Regions from separate parts of the Homo sapiens genome. Here regions 2, 3, 4, 5, 6 and 7 are each linked to region 1. Evidence: promoter capture Hi-C in 16 types of primary human blood cells and fetal thymus (Javierre and others, 2016). All regions are on one chromosome and are shown on one strand. Each heading gives the region's core, a stretch centred on a gene start or on the middle of the fragment in contact. The rest is flanking DNA. Distances are from core to core; before and after follow the strand shown. Region 1 holds the start of OMA1 (OMA1 zinc metallopeptidase). Region 2 has its middle 8.6 kb from the start of FYB2. Region 3 has its middle 6.7 kb from the start of CYP2J2. Region 4 overlaps LOC105378758 (a long non-coding RNA gene). Region 5 overlaps HOOK1 (hook microtubule tethering protein 1). Region 6 overlaps HOOK1 (hook microtubule tethering protein 1). Region 7 has its middle 7.9 kb from the start of C8A.

Region 1 (2,798 bases), core at 84-2,583:
CTTCTTTCCAAGTGAAGATAATAAATCAAAACCGATATTTCATCTGAGGGGATAGTGAGATGATGGTGGAGATTAATGTCATAATTAAAGACCTGAAATATACAAGAGTGGTTGGTCATCCCTGCCATATCTCTACTTAACTTGCCAGTCTGGCCCCTTTGGAAATCAGGTGGACCCAGGATAATGACATAATGGCTCTGCGCAGTCCAAAAGGAGCTGGATCAACTGGAAATTCCAGAGAACATCACACCCATCTATTTCACCAATGACATTATGCTAACCAGGCAAGATGAGCAAGAGGTGGCTAGCATGCTGGAAACTTTGGTAAGACATGTGCACTCCAGAGTTTGGGAGATAAACCCTACGAAGACTGAAGGACCTCCTACTTCAGTTTTTAGGGGTCCAGTTGTCAGGGGTTTTCCAGGATATCCCTTTCAAAGTAAAAGGCAAATCATAAAATACACATAAGATAAACGAAACAGTAACTTACACATTTTCCAAAAGAGATACCTAAAATTGTTCATAGTGTTTATGTCCTTTGACATAGTGTTTATGTCCTTTGAGATGTTTTCATTGTGCACAGAGTGTAAACATAATAAACTAATATGAGACCTCACTACTCATCCATCACAATCCAGTGTTTATTTGTACTGGCTTATTTGTACACTTTTATTTATTTGTGTTTATTTGTACACTTTTTTTTAATCGCCTGTCTTTCCTCACTGTGATATAAAGTTCACGAAATTCAGGTCTGTCTTGTTCACTGCTACATCCTTGGCACTTAAAATGTAGTTGATGCTCAAGAAATATGTTTTGGTGAAATGAATGAAACATACTATACACATAATTTTGGAGCCAGCTACTTTAACCTCCAGACACTTAAGATTATACTTCATCTTTCTTAAAATGCGTCCCTCCAAAAATCATATGAAAGCACTGTTCCCATACTCCAAAGACTATTTCTATGAATGCAGATTCAGAACCAGGAAGCCTTCGTCTTTTGGCAGTCTTCGAGTCTCTTCCCTTTTGGCCGGTACTGCCGTAGAGACTACAACGGACACAGCCTTGCGTGGATCATTCTTTAGAGGACCCAACTCACCAAAGACGGGAGAAAGTTGTTCCTAGGCAAGCAGCCCAGCCCAGGGCCATGTCCCGCCTTAAGCCACACGGAGGCGCTAGAGCGCCACAGTCTCCGCGGGGCCCGGGGCAGCTGGGAGAACGACTCTGGGCGGCTGTATTGACTGCCGGGTGTGGGCGGAGCGAAGGGCGCCCCGGCCGGTATGGCGGGCAGGAAGTGCGGGTGCGCGCCTGCGCATAGGTCGGGTCTGCGGTGTCACCGCTTTCGCTTCTGCTTGAGTCAGTCCTCACGGTGACGCTTTTCCCCAGCTTTTCCGAGTAGGATCGTGCCCAGGGGAGGAGGCAGAGTGCGGCAGTGGGGAGGGGGCGGAGCGCAGAGCGCCTGCGGGGGCGCCCGGGCAAGGAGTGGGGATCCTTGGGGATGGGGGTACGGGAGGAGGCGTGGGTGGGCGATAAGGCTGCGTGGAGGGGAGGGGCGGGGGGCGCCGGGGCGGGAGACGGAGGGGATCTGTCCTGGGGGAGCCCGGTTCTCCCCTAGCCTTGCCCGGGGCACGCCGGTGACCCCGTGTGTCTGCCCCGTGGCAGTACTTTCGTGGGCCGCCTGCCCTCCCCCTCAGCCCGCCCTTATCCGCGGCTCCGCTTTCAGAGCAGGGTTTCTCACCCGCGGGGCTTCGGGCTCCTCACCCGGCACCTCTGCCAGAGGGGACCGCCTCCCGGCGCGTCGGGCATTCGTCTCTTTCACCCCTTCCCTCTTCAGGAGAAACTGAACACGTTTTCCAGCCTAAACTCGGCAGGGCAAACCAGAACATTCCCCGTCTAAGCAGTTCCGGGGAGTTTTAACAATTTCCTCGTAAACTCGTCTACAGAACTCACTGTATACTGTTTAAATGTCGCCTGTGTGTGGAGCAACAGTTTTATTGTGCCGTGCAATCCTCAACAAGAAATTGTAGTCCAGGGAGATGAAAATCCCTTATTTGGCATTCAGGCGTTGATCAAGGTCGTGCAACCCTCGCTAAAAGGATTTAGGTTCATCTCCGTCATTCTCAGCCGGGGTGAAGGGGTGTAGTCTGACATTTGGAAGCTTAAGAACCAAGTCTGCTGCCGTCCAATTCTTTTTTAAAGCCTTCCATCATGTGTGTACTTTGCTTGAATGATTATTTTAAAGTACATGTCCTATTTTTGCCAATCTGACAGCTGTTTCCATAGAAACTAGAGAAGAAATAGTCATTTTCAGCAAGAGTTGTTAAAACTGTCTTCCAGGCTTCAGCTGTGAGTGCCAGTGAGTGCTGCACTTGCTCATTCGGAGATGGTACTTAAAGAATTAAGGATCTGAAATGTTCGTAGAGGCTAACAATCCAAATTGTTTAATTTTCTCACATCATTAATTTTGTTATCCTAGAAGTCTGCCAGCTATGTTTGTTGACCTGCCACAGCTCTTTGAAGAGAATATGTCAGCCCTGATTTTTTTTTTTCTTATGTGCTCTGTAGTCTAGTGATTGGCTCCTTGAAAATGCATGAATAGATTTCTTCCCTCATTCTTTACCCTTTCTTCAGGATAAACCGGGTATTACAAAATATCAGGCACTGTTTCTATTCAAAACGACACTTGGTTGTCAGTGATAGAAATGATAATGGTTTTAATTATATATGCGTAGTGTTGGGGCTTTTGCTTATACCTTCTGTGTCAATAGGATTCTTTTAAAATTTTTACACAAGTCATG
Region 2 (2,700 bases), core at 26-2,525, 1.7 Mb after region 1:
AGAAGAAAAGAAAACCACAACTGAATCTATGTTTGCAAATCCAAAGCAAAGATTTGTCTTCTTAAATAACATATCTTAGGATCTGAAGGCAACTGTCCATGGAGAGTTACAAAAATATTTTGGATCCCGGCATTAGAATAAATGTTGAAGAGCAAACACTCAGGAGGGTGCATGAGTTTTCCATTTGCTTAATAGAAGAGGAGGAGGAAGAGCAGGGAGGAGAAGGAGACACAGGAAGGCGGCAGGGTGTCACACTCTTCCCCTACATCCAAGATGATCTGGACCACCCTCTTTCAGCCACCCTGCAGCAGAATTCTCCCAGCCTACAGGCTAAATCTGAAGTCCTCAGCACACAATTCAAAGCGCGCATTGTGGCTACACATTCTGGGATGTGTAGTCTTTCCCTCCTGGGATGGCTTTCCTGACACACCCTGCACTTCTGCCAGAGCCAGAGTTCTCTCTGCTCCCTGAGAATGCCAGACCCATTCCAGAAGCTGTGCCCCGATCACACTGTTGCCTCTTCTGAAACAGCCTCTCCCTGCTTTCATGTCAAACTCTCATGCCTCATCAAGACCCAGCTCATGCTATCTCCTCCAAAAAGCTTTCTGAACCCTTTCCTTCCACAAAAAAAGGACATCATTGCTCCTTCTATTTTGCTCTAGTGGCTTAAGAAAAGTCAATTATGGTATTTACTGTTTTCTCTTGTATTATGTGTATCCCTTATGCCTGCCATGAGAGAGGTTGCCCACAGATGCATTCTTCAGCCCTGCCCTGTTCTCCCCCATATGGCAGGACCTCTGACCCCTACAGGCTGCAGGTCTCAGGCTTCTGCATCAGTTGGCTTCTGTCTGGGCTTGGCCAATGGAAGGCACTCACAGGAGACTACTGAAAGATGGGAGGAAGGAAGAAGCCAGGGTACTTCTTCTCTTCTCTAGAAGCCTCAGAAGGTAGAGGTGGCCATTACTTTCCCTTACTGATTCTCACGCTTCCTCTGAGTGATTCTAGCTCCTAGACCCTAATACACCACCTCCAATTTGTCCCTGTAGCTTAGTGGCTCCCAGCTCTTGCTAATCCCTGGGTATCCTCACAGCTCTCCTGGTGTAACCAATTGTCCATATTAAATTTCCTGCTTCCAATATGTAGAAAGATTTCTGTTTTCCTAACTGGACCCTGGCAGATACATCAGCTCATCTCCCCATCCAGGAGTTCCTGAGAATGGTCGGTTTAATAATAAAACCAGTGAATGGGTGAATGGAGAAACATGTTTACTTATCATAAATCATGTTTATATTTATACTTTCCAAGACACTTTCATGGCTCTGGGAAAGTTATCCACTTTTCCTAACTAGGTTCCCCATCCCCAGTCCTCTTGTTCAAGTTAACCCACACTCAAGTCCTGCATAGCATCTGTGTCACTGACAGATGGTGAGATACTGGGTGTGGAGTGAGATCATCACAATCAGAACAGTTAGAGAATCCAGAAAAACTGAGAGTGTTGGCAGGGGCCCTTAGGACAATGGCAAAGGATCCATTATCCTTCTGCTCTTCAGGTCTCATATGTGACTTTAGCCAGAGTGAGGCCAATTTACAGTTATTCCTAGAGCCCAGTGCAATTTGCACATGATGAGAAGATGCACATTCATGGCCAAAGTGGAAGATTTGGATAACAGGCTGGCTGCAGAAATGCTCCCCTATGCATGAGGCCAGCACATGGCCGCATGGTCTCCTCAGTGCTGCCCAGAGCATTATTATATTTCCATATTGGTCTGGAGGCCAAATGAATAGAAACCAGGCATTTAAAAGGGATCTGGGAATGGCCAGCAGTTAACGCTCCCACTACAGTGGAGGATGGTTCTACCCTTTCCTGACCCATACATCTCTCAAATCACTTTGGTCCTTCTAAAGCCTTGGCTGTAAATGAGGCTGACCAGCTATTGAGAAGAAGCTTAGACCTAAAATGAGAAAAGGAAAATAATCCCACCAAATGAAATCTCACCAGAAAGGTAACATGTTTATTAAAAAAAAAAAAAAAAAAAAAAACAAACCAGTTATTGTAGGGTTAGCACTGAGCTAGGTAGAGAATGAGTAAGAACAAATTTCTGCCCTTGAAGGCCCCACTGCCTACTTGACAGAGACAGGCACATGGGCAGAGGGACAAAGGCAAGGTGGTGAGCTGAGCTGGAGTCCAGAGGCTCAGTGTATGGCCCATGCACAGCAGGTAAGAATACATGTTCTGGATGGGGCTGACCAAAGGCAAACCCCAGCCCTCCCACTGACCAGCCTTTTAACCTGATCTGCGTGACCCTCATTTCCCTGGGTCTTGGCTTTCTCATCTGTAAAATGGGGGGTGAGTGCCCACTCACAGTTGTTGTGAAAATAAAATGAGTTTATGCACCAGAAGTTCTTCATGCCTAGTCTGATGCAAGCCCACACAAGAACACTGGTGTTGTCATAATGGATGGCCTCTGGTGGCAGTAGTGAAATTCCTCCAACAGCTTTGTGGGCCCTGGATTGGAGCTGGAAAGAAAGACCATGGTGAATGCCACTTGTGATGGGTCCAGCTGACAGTCGGACTTGGGGGCCCTTGGGAAACTGCCTTTGAAGATCCTCAGAAATACTTGGGAGGGTGGTGAGTTTATGAAGGACTCACAGAGGCTACCATATGGATAGGAATAAAACCAGTTGTGTTGTTGCAAGACC
Region 3 (2,700 bases), core at 79-2,578, 1.4 Mb before region 1:
TTGTACCAGTTTGCATTCCCACCAACAGTGCACAAGGATTCTATTTTCTCCATATCCTAGCCAACCCATATTATCTTTTGACATTTTGATAATAGTTATCTTAACATGTATGAGGTGATACCTCATCATGAGTGTGATTTGCATTTCCTTGATGATTAGTGACATTGAGCATCATTTCATATACCTGTTCACCCACTTGTATGTTTCCTTAGTAAAATATCTATTCAAGTCATTTGCCCATTTAAAATCAGGTTATTTGGGGATTTTTTGCTATCAATTTGTAGGAATTTCTTACATATTTTTATATCAACCCCCTATCAGATACACGATTTGCATGTATTTTCACTGCATTGATTGTTTCCTTTGTTGTGAAGAAGCTTTAGTTTGATATTCTCACTTGTATGTTTTTGCTTTTGTTGCCTCTGCTTTTGATGTTATATCCAAATCATTGCTAAGACCACTGTTATGAAGTCTTTCCCCTGTGTTTTCTTCTAGGAGCTTTAGGGTTTCACGTCATATGTTTAGGTTTTTAATCCATTTTGAGTTTATTTTTGTCTGTGTTATATAATAAGGGTTCAATTTCATTCTTTTACATGTGGTTATACAGTTTTGCCACACCATTGTTGAAGAGACTGTCCTTTCCCCGTTATGTAGTATTGATATCCTTGTTGAAGACCATTTGCTCATATATGCATGGATTTGTTTCTGGGCTGTCTATTCTGTTTCATTGGTCTCTAGGTCTGTCTTTATGCCAGTATCAGATTTATTTGGTTACTGTAGTTTGTAATGTTTTGGAATTAGGAAAGTTTTGTGCCTGCAGCTTTGTTTTTGTTTCTCAAAATTGTTTCACTTTTTCAGGGTCTTTTGTAGGTCCATATAAATTTTAGAATATTTTTTAATTTCTTCTGCAAAAAAGGAAAAGTCAAGAGGATTTTGATATGGATGACATTAAATCTGCAAATTAATTTCGGTAATATGGACATTTTAACAATATTAAGTCTTTCAATCTATGAACATGGGATGTCTTTCCATTTATTTGTGTCTTTTAATTTTTTTTAGCGATGTCTTGCAGTTTTCAATGCACAAATCTTTTGTCTCCTTAGTTAAGTCTATTCTTTTTAATGCTGAAGTAAATTATCTCTGTTCACAGATGACATAATCTTACATGTAGAAAACTCTAAAGATTCCACACACCACCCCCCAAAAAACTGTTAGAACTAATAAGCAAATTCAGCAAAGTTTTAGGATACAAAATCAACATGCAAAAATCAGCTGTGTTTCTATACACTAACAACAAACAATCTGAAAGGGATATTTTTTAATCCACTCTGATAGACTATATCTTTTAATTGGTGTATTTAGATTATTGACACTTAAAATGATTATTGATGTAGTTGGGTTAATATCTACCCTATTCTTATCTGTTTTCTACTCATTGCTCTTGTTTTTGTTTCTTTTCTGTCTTGCACTCATTTTTAGCCTTGTGTCATTTTAATTGAGCATTTTATATGATTCTGCTTTCTTTCCTTTCTTAGCATATCAATTGTATTTCTTTTATTAAACTTGTTTAAGGTTGCCTTAGAGTTGGCACTACACATTTCCAACTGATTGAAATCATTTCAAATAATACTATACTGCTTTATGGGTAGTGCAAGTACCTTATAATAGAATTTTTCTGATTTGTTCCATGCATTCTTTGTAACATTGCATCATTCATTTCACTTATCAATAAGCTATAATCACTGAATACATTGCTGTTATTTTTACTTGGAGCAAACTTATCTGCTAAATCAATTAAGAATAAGAAAAATCCTTTGGGAGGGTGAAGAGGGCAGATCACTAGAGGTCAGGACTTCGAGACCAGCTGGGCCAACATGGTGAAACCCTGTCTCTACTAAAAATACAGAAATTAGCCAAGCATAATGCCATGTGCTTGTAATCCCAGCTACTCAGGGGGCTGAGGCACAAGAATTGCTTGAACCTGGAAGGCAGAGGCTGCAGTGAGCCATGATTGCACCACTGCACTCCAGCCTGGGCAACAGAGCAAAACTCTGTCTCAAAAAAAAAAAAAATAGAATAAGAAAATAAAATATTTATCTTACTTTCATTTATCTCTTCTCTGGTATTCTTCCTTTCTGTATGTATATCTCAGTTTCTGGCCTAAATATTTTTCCTTCTTTCTAAAGAACTTCTTTTACTAGTTCTTGTAAAGCATGTCTACTAGTAAAAAACTCCCTCAATTTTTGCTTTTTACTACTTCTTCACTTTTTTGAAGCTTAGAAACTTAGAACTTACTTTTATAAAAGCATGTTGACAAATATTGAAATGTTATAGTTGCAATTTGAACATTATTAGATGAATATAAAACACAAAACACTCTAAATTGAATCTCCTATGGCTGACTCAATTTAGATATTATTTTATATCTTATAGAAAAAAACTTTCAGAGTTTTGTCAATGCTTATAGCATGTATTATTACTCCTCAATAAAATCTTCATGAAATCTCAAAGGTTGATAGTAAAAGTAATGATTTTTTTCCTATGGAATATCCTAAAACATACCTGTATAGATTAGCCTTCAGACTTTCAGGACGTTAAAAATATACAGAGTACCTCAGAATACTTTTCACACACTTAGGTTAAATTTGCTTACAGTTATGACAGAAATAACTTCAACTTTTATATAATAAAAAATAAATC
Region 4 (2,700 bases), core at 22-2,521, 1.3 Mb before region 1:
TGAGAGAGGGAACAAGAGAGAAGCCACCAAGAGGCCCCAGGCTCTTCTAAACAACCAGCTTTTATATGAACTAACAGAGTGAGAACTCATTACTGTGAGGAGAGCACCAAGCCATTCTTGAGGGATCTGTTCCCATGACCCAAACACCTCTCTCTAGGCCAACCTTCAACAATAGAGTTCATACTTCAACATGAGATTTGGAGGGGCCACACATCCAGACTATAGCAAGCTAATAGAGGAATTTAGCCAAGTTGCAGAATATAATATCAAAACTCCATGTATTTCTACAATGGATATCTGTATTGTATATAAAACCCCATTGTATTTATATATACGAGTAATGAACAATCTGAAAAAGAAACCATAAAACAATTTCATTTAAAATAACATCAGGCCCAGTGTGGTGGCTCACACCTGTAATCTCAGCACTTTGGGAGGCTGAGGCAGGCGGGTCACTTGAGGTCAGGAGTTCAAAACCAGCCTGGTCAACATGGCAAAACCCTGTCTCTACTAAAAATACAAAATTGGCTGAGTGTGATGGTGCATGCCTGTAGTCCCAGCTACTCAGGAGGCCGAGGCAGGAGAATCACTTGAACCTGGGAGGCAGAGGTTGCAGTGAGCTGTGATCATGCCACTGCACTCCAGCCTGGGTGACAGAGTGAGACTCTGTCTCAAAAACAAACAAATGAAACAAAAACAAACAGAAAAATAAAAATAAAGTAACATCAAAACGGTAAAATATTTAAGAATATATTTAACCAGGGAATTGTAACACTTGTGCACTGAACACTATAAAATTTTGCTGAAAGAGATTAAGGAGAACCTTAATAAGTAGAAAGAGATTTCATGTTCATGGATTGGAAGATATAATATTAAGATGACAATACTCCCCAAATTGATCTACAGATTCAGTGCAAGCTCTATCAAAATTTCAACTTCTTTTTTGAACAAATAGAGAAGCTGATTCTAAAATTCATATGGAATTGCAAGAGATGCAGGACATCCAAAATCCTGAAAAAGAAAGCAAAAAGAACTTAAACCCATACTTCAAAACTTACTACAAAGTTACAAAAATCAAAACAGTGTACTATTGGAATAAAGGTAGATATATAGGTCACTGGAGTATAATTGAGAGTCCAGAAAGAAATCAATATATCTATGGATAATTTATTTCTAATAAAGATGTCAAGACCATTCAATGGGGGAAAGAATTGTCTTTTCAAAAAATGATGCTTGGACAAACGAATGTCTACACGGCAAAGAATGGATTTGGATCTTTACCTCATAACACATACATAAATTAATTCAAAACAGATTTAAAAATTCAAATGTAAAAGCTAAAACTATACAACTCTTGAAAGGAAACATAGGTGTAACTCTTCTTGACCTTAGATTAAGCAATAGTTTCTTAGCTAAGGTATCAAGAGCACAAGCAACAAAAGAAAAAATAGATAACATAAACTTCATTAAAATTAAAAACAAAAAAATTAATTGAAATCGTCATAATTATACATACTTAGTGGGTACAGAGTGACATTTCAATACATGCATACAATGTGTATTGATCAATCAGGGTAATTAGCATATCCATCATCTCAAACATCCATCATTTCTTTGTGTTGGGAACATTCAGCATCCTCCTTTTAGCTATCTGAAATGTTATAATATATTACTGTTGACTGTAGTCATCCCACAGGTGTATAAAACACTAGAACTTATTCCTCCTATCTAGCTGTAAGTTTGTATCCTTTAACTAACTTCTCTAACTCCCTCCTTTACCTACCCTTTTCTGGTAACCACAATTCTACTCTCTGCTTCTATGAGCTCAGCATTTCTAGTTTCCGCATTATGAGTGAGAACATGTGGTATTTATCATTCTGTGTCTGACTTATTTCACTTAACATAATATCTCCTAGGATGATCCATGTTGCTGCAAATGACAGAATTTTATTCTTTTTTATGGTTGAATAATATTTCATTGTGATATATATATATATCACATATATATATATGACATTTTTTTTATCCATTCATCTACTGATGGGCATGTAGGTTGATTCAATATCTTGCCTATTGTGAATAGTGCCACAATAAACACAGGGATGCAGATCACAATTCAGCATATGGTTTTCCTTTCCTTTGGATACATAACCAATAGTGGAATTGCTAGATCATATGGTAGTTCTATTTTCATTTTTTTTGAAGAAATTCCATACTGTTTTACATAATGGCTATACTAATTTACATTCCCACTAACAGAATATAAGAGTTCCCTTTTCTCTGCATCTTTGCCGGCATTTTTTTGTGTGTGCTTTTAATAAGAGCTAGTCTAACTAGATGAGATGATATCTCATTGTGGTTTTGATTTAAATTTTCTTAATGGTTTGTGATGTTGAGCACTTTTGCATATACATTGCCATTTGTATGTCTTTTTAAAAAATAAATGTCTATTTTGATCATTTGCCCATTTTTAAATCAGATTTTTTTTTTTTTGCTGTTGAATTGTTTGAGTTCCTTCTGTATTCTGGTTATTAATCCCTTGCCTCTTTATTCTCTTGATTGTTTCCTTTGTTACAGTGAAGCTTTTGAGTTTGATATAATCCCATTTGTCATTTTTGCTTTTGTTGCCTGTGCTCTTGAAGTCTCATCATTAAATCTTTGCTCAGAAGTGTTTCTCCTATGTTTTTTTCTGGTGGTTTT
Region 5 (2,790 bases), core at 54-2,553, 1.3 Mb before region 1:
TTAAAAAGAACAACAAAAACATTATAATAGAGTTCTATAAATACAAACACATGATGCTTTTTAACCATCAGAGATTTAATCAGTGTTTAGTTAAGTAGGGTGATTCTATTTAAAGTGGGTCACAATGAACTCAAGGGCCCACTGTAAAAATTTATACACAGGCATGTCCAGCTGCAGTCATGAGCAAGTTAACTGGGTTTTGATTTTCTCTCCTGTCACTAATAACTAGAAAATAAGACAAAATACATTAAACAATTGTTTGCAAGCTTTAGACAAGTAAGTAGTACAGAACTCTGCTTTCTGAAAGAATGAAAACAAACAGAAAATGGGCCCTACACTAGTACAAGCTTTCTGTCTTGAGGCAATTTTCAGACTACAGCATAGGGAGGTGGAAACCAAACACCAAGCCTGATGTTCTCACCGATTGAAGAGATAAGACATTAGAAGTTCAGGAAGGCCTGGGCAGTTTGAATTTGCAAGGCAGACGATGAAAAGATGGGAGCTATGGAATGAGCAAGCTCTGGAGATTTGTGTAAAATGGTTCCTTTGACTCTTTGGCTAAATACCAGTTTGCATGTGGATGGGTGAAACTGAATGTTCTTTCCAAAGAAATAACAATCCAGGGAACTATAAACTGAACCATTCCCAAAGATTATACAGGCCAAAAAATTTTTGAAATTCTCACTAGCCAGAATGAAGACACCATGCTACACGCACAAAACATTCACTAAAGACCCCCAAAAAGGTCACAGCTTAGTAATGAGTCTACTTTAGTCCTAAAGGAAAGAATAACTTTAGTTCTGCCCCCCACAATAGCCAAAAATAGGCCTTTAAAGGATCAAACTGATTCCAAGTACCTTAACTGCTTGCAAGAAGAAAATTCAACACTCCTCAAAAGAATATACTTAATTGGGAGGCTGAGGCAGTTGGATCACCTGAGGTCAGGAGTTCAAGACCAGCCTGGCCAACATGGCGAAACCCCGCCTCTACTCAAAATACAAAAATTAGCCAGGCATGGTGGTGGGCACCTGTAATCCCAGCTACTCGGGAGGCTGAGGCAGAAGAATCGCTTGAACCTCGGGGGCAGAGGTTGCAGTGAGCTGAGATTGCACCACTTCACTCCAGGCTGGGCGTAAGAGCGAAATTCTGTCTCAGGAAAAAAAAAAAAAAACTTAAAAAAAAAAATCAGCATTCAATAATAAAATTCATAATGTTTAGCATCCAATTAAAAAATTACTACAGATGTGAAGAAGCAGGAAAGTGGGAACCAAAATTAGGAGAAAACTCAGTCAATACACATGGGTTCAGAAATGAAAGATAAAAGAATTGAGACAATGTTAAAACTTCTAGTTTAAAGATGTTCAAGGATTTGAACAAAAACATGAATGTAAGAAATAGAAGGTTTTTTACAATAAAGAATCAAATACAGATTGTCAAACTGGATAAAAATGTAAGACCCAACTATTAGGTGTCTACATGAAACACTTTCAATAAAAAGACATAGGCAGATTAAAAGAATGGAAAAAGAAATACTAATGAAAAATATAATCATAAAAAATCTGTAGTGGCTACATTAATATTAGAGCTAATTTGATTTCAAATAAAAGAATATTACCAGGGATAAAGAAAAGCATTTCATAATAAGTGAATTCATTCAAGAACACACAAGAAATATAGTGTGTAATAAACTTAATAACAGAAATTCAAAATACATGAAGTAAAAAGCAAAAAAATGCAAAGGAGAAATCAACAAAATCGAAATCATCATTAGAGATTTAAGGGCTCTCTACAGAGTCTATACTACACTATACACATAGTATAATAAGAAAAAATATCAATAAAGATATGGAAAATACCACTATCAACAAATTTAACAAAATCTATATTTATATAACAACTGTAGAATGCATGCTGTTTTCATATGCACATGGAACATTCACCAAGACAGACCATAGGTTCGGTCATAAAATAAGACTCAATAAATGTAAAATAACTTCTCAATACAGAGTATTGTCTCAGATCTATTAGAAACCAATAAATAAAAGAAAGGCAACTGGAAAATCCTCAAATATTTTGAATTTGAATTACCTACTTCTAATTTACTCATAGGTCAAAGGAGAAAACTTTATAAGGGAAATTACCAAATATTTTGAACTGAATGAAAATAAAGTAACAGTCTGTCAAAATATGTGGGATGTGGCTAAGATGGTGGTTAATATTAGGGGAAAAAAGGGTTTAGAGTTGATTATTTAAGCTTCCACCTTAAGAAGCAAGAAAAAGAAGAACAGGTTAAGTGAGAGAAAGGAAATAATAAAAATCAGAAAAATCAATGGAATAGAAAACATACACTAATTCTTTAAAAAATAAATAAGTAAAATTGAAAAACATCTAGCCAGACTTATCAAGGAAAATAAATTCAAAAGACACAAATAACCAATAGCAGGAAAAGAAAAGGAAACATCATTAAAGATCAGTTATTAGCACATTATTAGCACAGTAATTCAGTTAAGGACTGTGTATCAACAAATCATACATCCTGTATGAAACAAATGTCCTACAAGACACAACAAAACTGACTTAAAAATAGAAAATCAGTTTGGCAGTTTCTTATAAGGTTAAGCACATACTTATACAACTTAGCAATTCCACCCAGAAATTCACCCAAGAGAAATTAAATATGCATCTATCCAAAGATTCATATATGAATGTTTGTAGCTGTTGTATTCACAATAGTCAAAAATGTTAAAAATTCAAACATCCATCAACAAGTGAATAGCTAAACAAACCACA
Region 6 (2,700 bases), core at 138-2,637, 1.3 Mb before region 1:
AGCAATGACAAATGCGGAATAATTATCTGTGCCTAGGTACAATATGAAGTAGGGCAGGCTACTTCTAAGAAAATACTTTTTAAAAGAAAACTTTTTTCCTGAAAGTATATATGCCTACATTTAAAATTTTAAGGAACTTAAATGTCGGTGGCAAAAAATTTCTACACCGCACTCACTGGTAGAAAAATCAGAAAACCAGCTCAATTTTTCTACAGTTGTATTTTTAATGAATGAAAACTAGATTTCCATCTTCTGTTTCAGATTTCACAGCGTATTGGAAGAGGAAGGTCACCATTTTCCAATCATTTCCACAAGTTTTTTTAAATTTAAATTAAAGGGAGTGCCACTAGCAACTAACTCAGATTCTAATGTGGCAAAATCTCATTCTTTAAAACTGTGCTTAAGAGTTACTTCCACTGGAAGTTACTAGCAAGAGTTAGTATCTCCCTCTCCCTCTATGTGTATCCACACATACACACTCACCTGCCTGCTATAATATTCCACTGTTGCAGTTATCACATAATATAGCAATTATCTATTTACATGTCTGCTTTCCTATGTTAATTCCTTAAAAGCTTAAATGATTTCCCCAGTGCTAACAACTTGTATTGAACTGAATAAGATAGTAATATGTAATGGTCTCTTCAGAAAAGTGTTAACAACTGGTATTGAACTGAGTAAGATGATAATATTTAATGGTCTCTTCAGAAAAGTGCTAACAACTGGTATTGAACTGAATAAAATAGTAATATTTAATGGTCTCTTTAGAAAACTAAATTGTTATTCTTCTTTTAACCACCGTTTATGTAACCTTATACACACAAGTTTGAGAAAGGTAAGATTCAAGTATGTCTAAAATTTCTGTTGGTGTCTAGGATTCAATAAAGGTTAAATAAATCCAAATACCCTTATAGTAAGTACACCATTTATAACAGGGAAGTTACCATAGTAGTTAGGAGTAAAGACTCAGTAATCAGATTGACAGAGAGTTCATTATGGAGGATCCAGAACTACTAGGTGTATAACTTTAGGTATGTTATTTAACTTCTCTGTATCCATATTCCTTATCCATAGAAAAAGAGCTATTGGTTACTACATGGTTACTATTTCATAGAGTTATTATGAGGATTTACTGAGTTAATAGCAAAAAAGTACTTAGAAAAGCATATAATAAGTTTTGAGCACTTCATTGATACCACATAAGCACATCATTTGCTTTAAGCTCATTATCTGCAGTCTTCCTAACAACTTGTATTTACACCTGAAGACACTGAGTGTAAGTTTAAGTAACTTGTCCAGAAACAGTTAATAAGTTAAATTAGAAGTGGGATTTAAATTTGATTCCACAATCTAGATCTTATCTATGCACTAGACTTCAGTAGAAAGCCAAACTGTCATTTATTCATTTGTCAAACTTTCTGAATTGTGAACATATCTAAATGAAATTCAAGAATAAGTAGCCTGGTGGGCCAGACACAGTGGCTCATGTTTGTAATCCCAGCAACTTTGGAAGGCTGAGGCAGGTGGATTACATGAGGTCAGGAGTTCGAGACCAGCCCAGCCAACATGGTGAAGCCCCATCTCTACTAATAATACAAAAATTGGCCAGGCATGGTGGCTCACGCCTGTAATCCCAGCACTTTGGGAGGCCAGGGTGGGTGGATCATGAGGTCAGGAGATTGAGACGAGCCTGGTCAACATGGTGAAACCCCATCTCTACTAAAAATACAAAAAAAAATTAGCCAGGCGTAGTGGCGTGTGCCTATAGTCCCATCTACTTGGGAGGGTGAGGCAGGAGAATCGCTTGAACCCGTGAGGCGGAAGTTGCAGTGAGCCGAGATCGCGCTACTGCACTCTAGCCTGGGTGACAGAGCAAGACTCCGTCTCAAAAAAAAAAAAAAGAAAGAGAAGAAAACAAATACAAAAACTATCCAAGCATGGTGGTGCATGTCTCTAATTGCAGCTATTCAGGAGGCCGAGGCATGAGAATCACTTGAACTGGGAAGGTGGAAGCTACAATGAGCAAAGATCACGCCACTGTACTCCAGCCTGGGCGACAGAGGGAGACCCTGTCTCAAAAAGAATAAAAAGAATAAGTAGCCTGGTTAACCAAGAATGCTGAAATTAATGGATTATCCATATATTTTATAAATATAACTGAAATGAATCACCTGACTTCTTTCACAGAGAGAAGCTTATAGTGATGAAAGACTACTAACAAAAATATTAAACTATTTCTAGGTAATTCTAATTACTTTAGCTACAATAATATTTTCCATTTCTGTGAATCAAGATTTTATGGCTCGGTAATAAAATCACCAAGATTTTCAGTTACTAAGGAGCATATCACCTCTGCTCAGTTTCCAGTTCATTCATTTTACGGTGTTTCTGTTCTAGCTGCTCCTGAAGTTCCTCAATACGTTCATTCTCAGAGCCTTCTTGCTGTAAGCGAAGCATCTTATTTTCATGTTGCAGTCGAATAAACACCTCCCTGATGTTACAAAGCAAAATCTTTTTTAATTTTTAAAAATATGAGTCATTATATTCTTTAGTTAAAAAAAGGAAATTCCTGTCCACTCAATAGCTACCATTTTAAGATGCAAGCAGGACCAGCTAGCATAGCTGGTAGGGTATGAAACTCTTAAACTCCAACAAAAGCTTCTGAAAGTGTTTAAGAAAAAATTATGTAAACTGCAAGAC
Region 7 (2,781 bases), core at 242-2,741, 1.7 Mb after region 1:
GCCTGATAGCGATGTGGACAATAAGGTCCAGGCTGAGGTGGTCTAAGATGGAGATGAGGAACTTGTTGAAAACTGGAGCAAAGGTGACTCTTGTCATGTTTTAGCAAAGAGACCTGCAGCGTTGGCCCCTGCCCTAGGAATGTGTGGAACTTTGAACTTGAGAAAGATGATTTAGGGTATCTGGTGGAAGAAATGTCTAAGCAGCAAAGCATTGAAGATGTGACTTGGGTGCAGTTAAAGGCATTCAGCTTTGTAAGGGAAGCAGAGCATAAAAGTTCAGAAAATTTGCAGCCCGATGATGTGATAAAAAAGAAAAACCCATTTTCTAGGGAGAAATTCAAGATGGCTGCAGAAATTTGCATAAGTAACGAGGACCTGAATGTTAATCCCTAAGACAATGGGGAAAATGTCTCCAGGGCATGTCGGAGGTCTTCATGGCAGCCCCTCCCAACACAGTCCTGAAGGCCTAGGAGAAAATGGTTTTGTGGTCTGGGCGCAGGGTCACCATGCTGTGTACATGTGGTGTACACTTGGTGCCCTGCATCCCAGCCTCTCCAGCCATGGTTGAAAGGGGCCAATGCACAGCTCACGCCATGACTTCAGAGGGTGTAAGCCCCAAACCTTGGCAGCTTCCACATGGTATTGAGACTGAGAGGGCACAGTAGTCAAGAATTGGGATTTGGGGGCCTCCATCTAGATTTCAGAAGATGTATGGAAACACCTGGATGACAGGCAGAAGTTTGCTGCAGAGGCAGGGTGCTCATGGAGAACCTCCGCTAGGGTAGTGCAGAAGGGAAATGTGGGGTCAGAGTCCCTACTGGGGCACCACCTCGTGAAGCTGTGAGAAGAGGACCACCATCCTCCAGACCCTAGAATGGTTGATCCACTGACAGCTTGCACCACTTGCCTGGAAAAGCCACAGACACTCAATGCCAGCCTGTGAAAGCAGCTGGGAGGGAGGCTGTACCCTGCAAAGTCACATAGGCAGAGCTGCCCAAGACCATGGGAACCCACCTCTTGCATCAGTGTGACCTGGATGTGAGACGTGCAGTCAAAGGAGATAATTTTGGAGCTTTAAAATTTGACTGACCTGCTGGATTTTGGACTTGCATGGGCCCTGTAACCACTTTGTTTTGGCCAATTTCTCCCATTTGGAATGGCTGTATTTACTCAATACCTGTACCCCCATTGTATCTAGGAAGTAATTAGATTTTGATTTTACAGACTCATAGGCAGAAGGGACTTGACTTGTCTCAGATGAGACTTTGGACTGTGGACTTTTGGGTTAATGCTGAAATGAGTTAAGACTTTGGGGGCTGTTGGGAAGGCATGACTGATTTTGAAATGTGAGAACATGAGATTTCAAGGGGCCAGAGGTGGAATGATATGGTTTGGCTCCATGTCCCTACTCAGATCGGATCTTGAATTGTACTCCCATAATTCCCACGTGTTGTGGGAAGGACCCGGTAGGAGATAATTTGAATCATGAGGGCGGTTCCCCCCATACTGTTCTTATGGTAGTGAATAAGTCTCACAAGATCTGATGGTTTTATCAGGGGTTTCTGCTTTTGCATCTTCCTCATTTTCTCTTGCCACTGCCGTGTAAGAAGTGCCTTTTGCCTCCTGCCATGATTCTGAAGTCTCCCCAGCCATGTGGAACTATAAGTCCAATTAAACCTCTTTTTCTTCCCAGTCTTGGGTATATTTATCAACTGCACAAAATGGATGAATACACCATCCTTTCTGTCAGGATTCTCTATTCCAGAAATACCAACCTATGGCTATTTGGGTTGGGCTTACTCTTAGCGGTGCCCAAGATGCCATCTGAAGAATCAGTAATGGCACAATCAGTAACGGCACAAGTAATGGCACTGAGAAACTGACGTAGACCACTGTGTGTGTGTGTGCCATTTTTCTATGTATTTGAGGCATCTTTATATTGTCAGCCCATGAGTATTTACATTTTAAATGAGACCCTTAAAGAAATTGTAGCCTTTAAGTCTCAGAGCAATAGTGACCCAATGGATTGATCAGTCAGAACCTGAGCTGTGGGAGTGCTGACAAGTTTTTCACTATTATGTTATAGTCAGTGATATAATGCACATGGCAATCAGTTATTGCATTCATTCCATCAAGGCTTAGGGTTAGACACTGTGGTGGACATTGAACACTCAGAGATAAAGAGAACACATCCCCTGCCCATCACCATGCCATGCCTAGGGGTGAGTGTGCCATGGAGAGCTGCAGATGGCCAAACTGGGAGCAGCCACAAACAGCTGCTGATGTGAGACTTATGCTTTGAAGGAAGCAGAAGGAAGGGGATAGGAGCTTGGTTGATGCAGAAGTTGCTTTAAACAGAGAGAGGAAGAAAGAGCAAACATCCCAGACATTGAGAATAGAATAAGCAAATCCAGTAAGGCACCAAAGAGCATGGCCATCTTGGGGCTCAACCAGCTATCTGGAGGGCTAGAACTAAGTATACCTTGAGAAGGATTGGCAGGACAGGCAAAGCCACATCCATCAACTTTGGGTTTTGTGGTTTTGGTTTTTTGTTGTTGGTTTTTGCTAAGACTCAGATATGTATTTCATCCCTAAGGACATGGAGGTACAACTGAATGAATTGAGGCTGTGGAGCCTCCTGATCAGATTTGTACTTTGCACTCTGGGATCCTCTTGGAGGATGCAGTGAGGGGCAGGGATCGGGGAGTTGGGATCAGAAGCCAAGAAACCAGGTTAGAGACCAACTCCCAGGACCTGGAACACCATGCACCTGCCACACAA

What was found. Contacts are between HindIII fragments. The CHiCAGO score rates a contact against its expected background, and 5 or more counts as called.
Region 2: a contact is called between a fragment that was not itself captured here and the fragment with the promoter of OMA1 in region 1, in 11 of 17 cell types (naive CD4 T cells, total CD4 T cells, naive CD8 T cells and 8 more). The highest score is 30.3, in naive CD4 T cells.
Region 3: a contact is called between a fragment that was not itself captured here and the fragment with the promoter of OMA1 in region 1, in 1 of 17 cell types (total B cells). The highest score is 6.2, in total B cells.
Region 4: a contact is called between a fragment that was not itself captured here and the fragment with the promoter of OMA1 in region 1, in 10 of 17 cell types (naive B cells, activated CD4 T cells, total CD4 T cells and 7 more). The highest score is 10.6, in naive B cells.
Region 5: a contact is called between a fragment that was not itself captured here and the fragment with the promoter of OMA1 in region 1, in 6 of 17 cell types (total CD4 T cells, non-activated CD4 T cells, total B cells and 3 more). The highest score is 7.2, in total CD4 T cells.
Region 6: a contact is called between a fragment that was not itself captured here and the fragment with the promoter of OMA1 in region 1, in 2 of 17 cell types (naive CD4 T cells and activated CD4 T cells). The highest score is 6.7, in naive CD4 T cells.
Region 7: a fragment that was not itself captured here is called in contact with the fragment with the promoter of OMA1 in region 1 in 4 of 17 cell types (naive CD8 T cells, total CD4 T cells, total B cells and 1 more); the score reaches 7.5 in naive CD8 T cells.

Annotation. Positions count from the first base shown.
Region 1 is chr1:58,545,261-58,548,058 of GRCh38, reverse strand. OMA1 (OMA1 zinc metallopeptidase) reads left to right here and starts at 1,333. Exons shown (of 9, transcript NM_145243.5): 1 at 1,333-1,356. It also overlaps a transcript of DAB1 not described here. RefSeq lists enhancers at 895-1,084, 1,298-1,924 and silencers at 1,485-1,584, 1,595-1,684. The HindIII fragment of the contact is 5,811 bases long and covers 1-2,160 here.
Region 2 is chr1:56,826,697-56,829,396 of GRCh38, reverse strand. It overlaps a transcript of FYB2 not described here. Among named protein-coding and RNA genes, the nearest start is that of FYB2, 8.6 kb to the right of the region's middle. The HindIII fragment of the contact is 1,344 bases long and covers 604-1,947 here.
Region 3 is chr1:59,932,077-59,934,776 of GRCh38, reverse strand. It overlaps a transcript of CYP2J2 not described here. Among named protein-coding and RNA genes, the nearest start is that of CYP2J2, 6.7 kb to the right of the region's middle. The HindIII fragment of the contact is 1,898 bases long and covers 380-2,277 here.
Region 4 is chr1:59,795,545-59,798,244 of GRCh38, reverse strand. The region is part of intron 3 of LOC105378758 (a long non-coding RNA gene); the gene reads left to right. Among named protein-coding and RNA genes, the nearest start is that of HOOK1, 18 kb to the left of the region's middle. The HindIII fragment of the contact is 2,627 bases long and covers 1-2,584 here.
Region 5 is chr1:59,829,282-59,832,071 of GRCh38, reverse strand. All of the region lies in intron 3 of HOOK1 (hook microtubule tethering protein 1), which reads right to left. Among named protein-coding and RNA genes, the nearest start is that of HOOK1, 16 kb to the right of the region's middle. The HindIII fragment of the contact is 1,907 bases long and covers 350-2,256 here.
Region 6 is chr1:59,859,979-59,862,678 of GRCh38, reverse strand. HOOK1 (hook microtubule tethering protein 1) reads right to left here. Exons shown (of 22, transcript NM_015888.6): 15 at 2,351-2,491. Among named protein-coding and RNA genes, the nearest start is that of HOOK1, 46 kb to the right of the region's middle. The HindIII fragment of the contact is 1,619 bases long and covers 578-2,196 here.
Region 7 is chr1:56,845,519-56,848,299 of GRCh38, reverse strand. No RefSeq gene overlaps it. Among named protein-coding and RNA genes, the nearest start is that of C8A, 7.9 kb to the left of the region's middle. The HindIII fragment of the contact is 6,184 bases long and covers 1-2,781 here.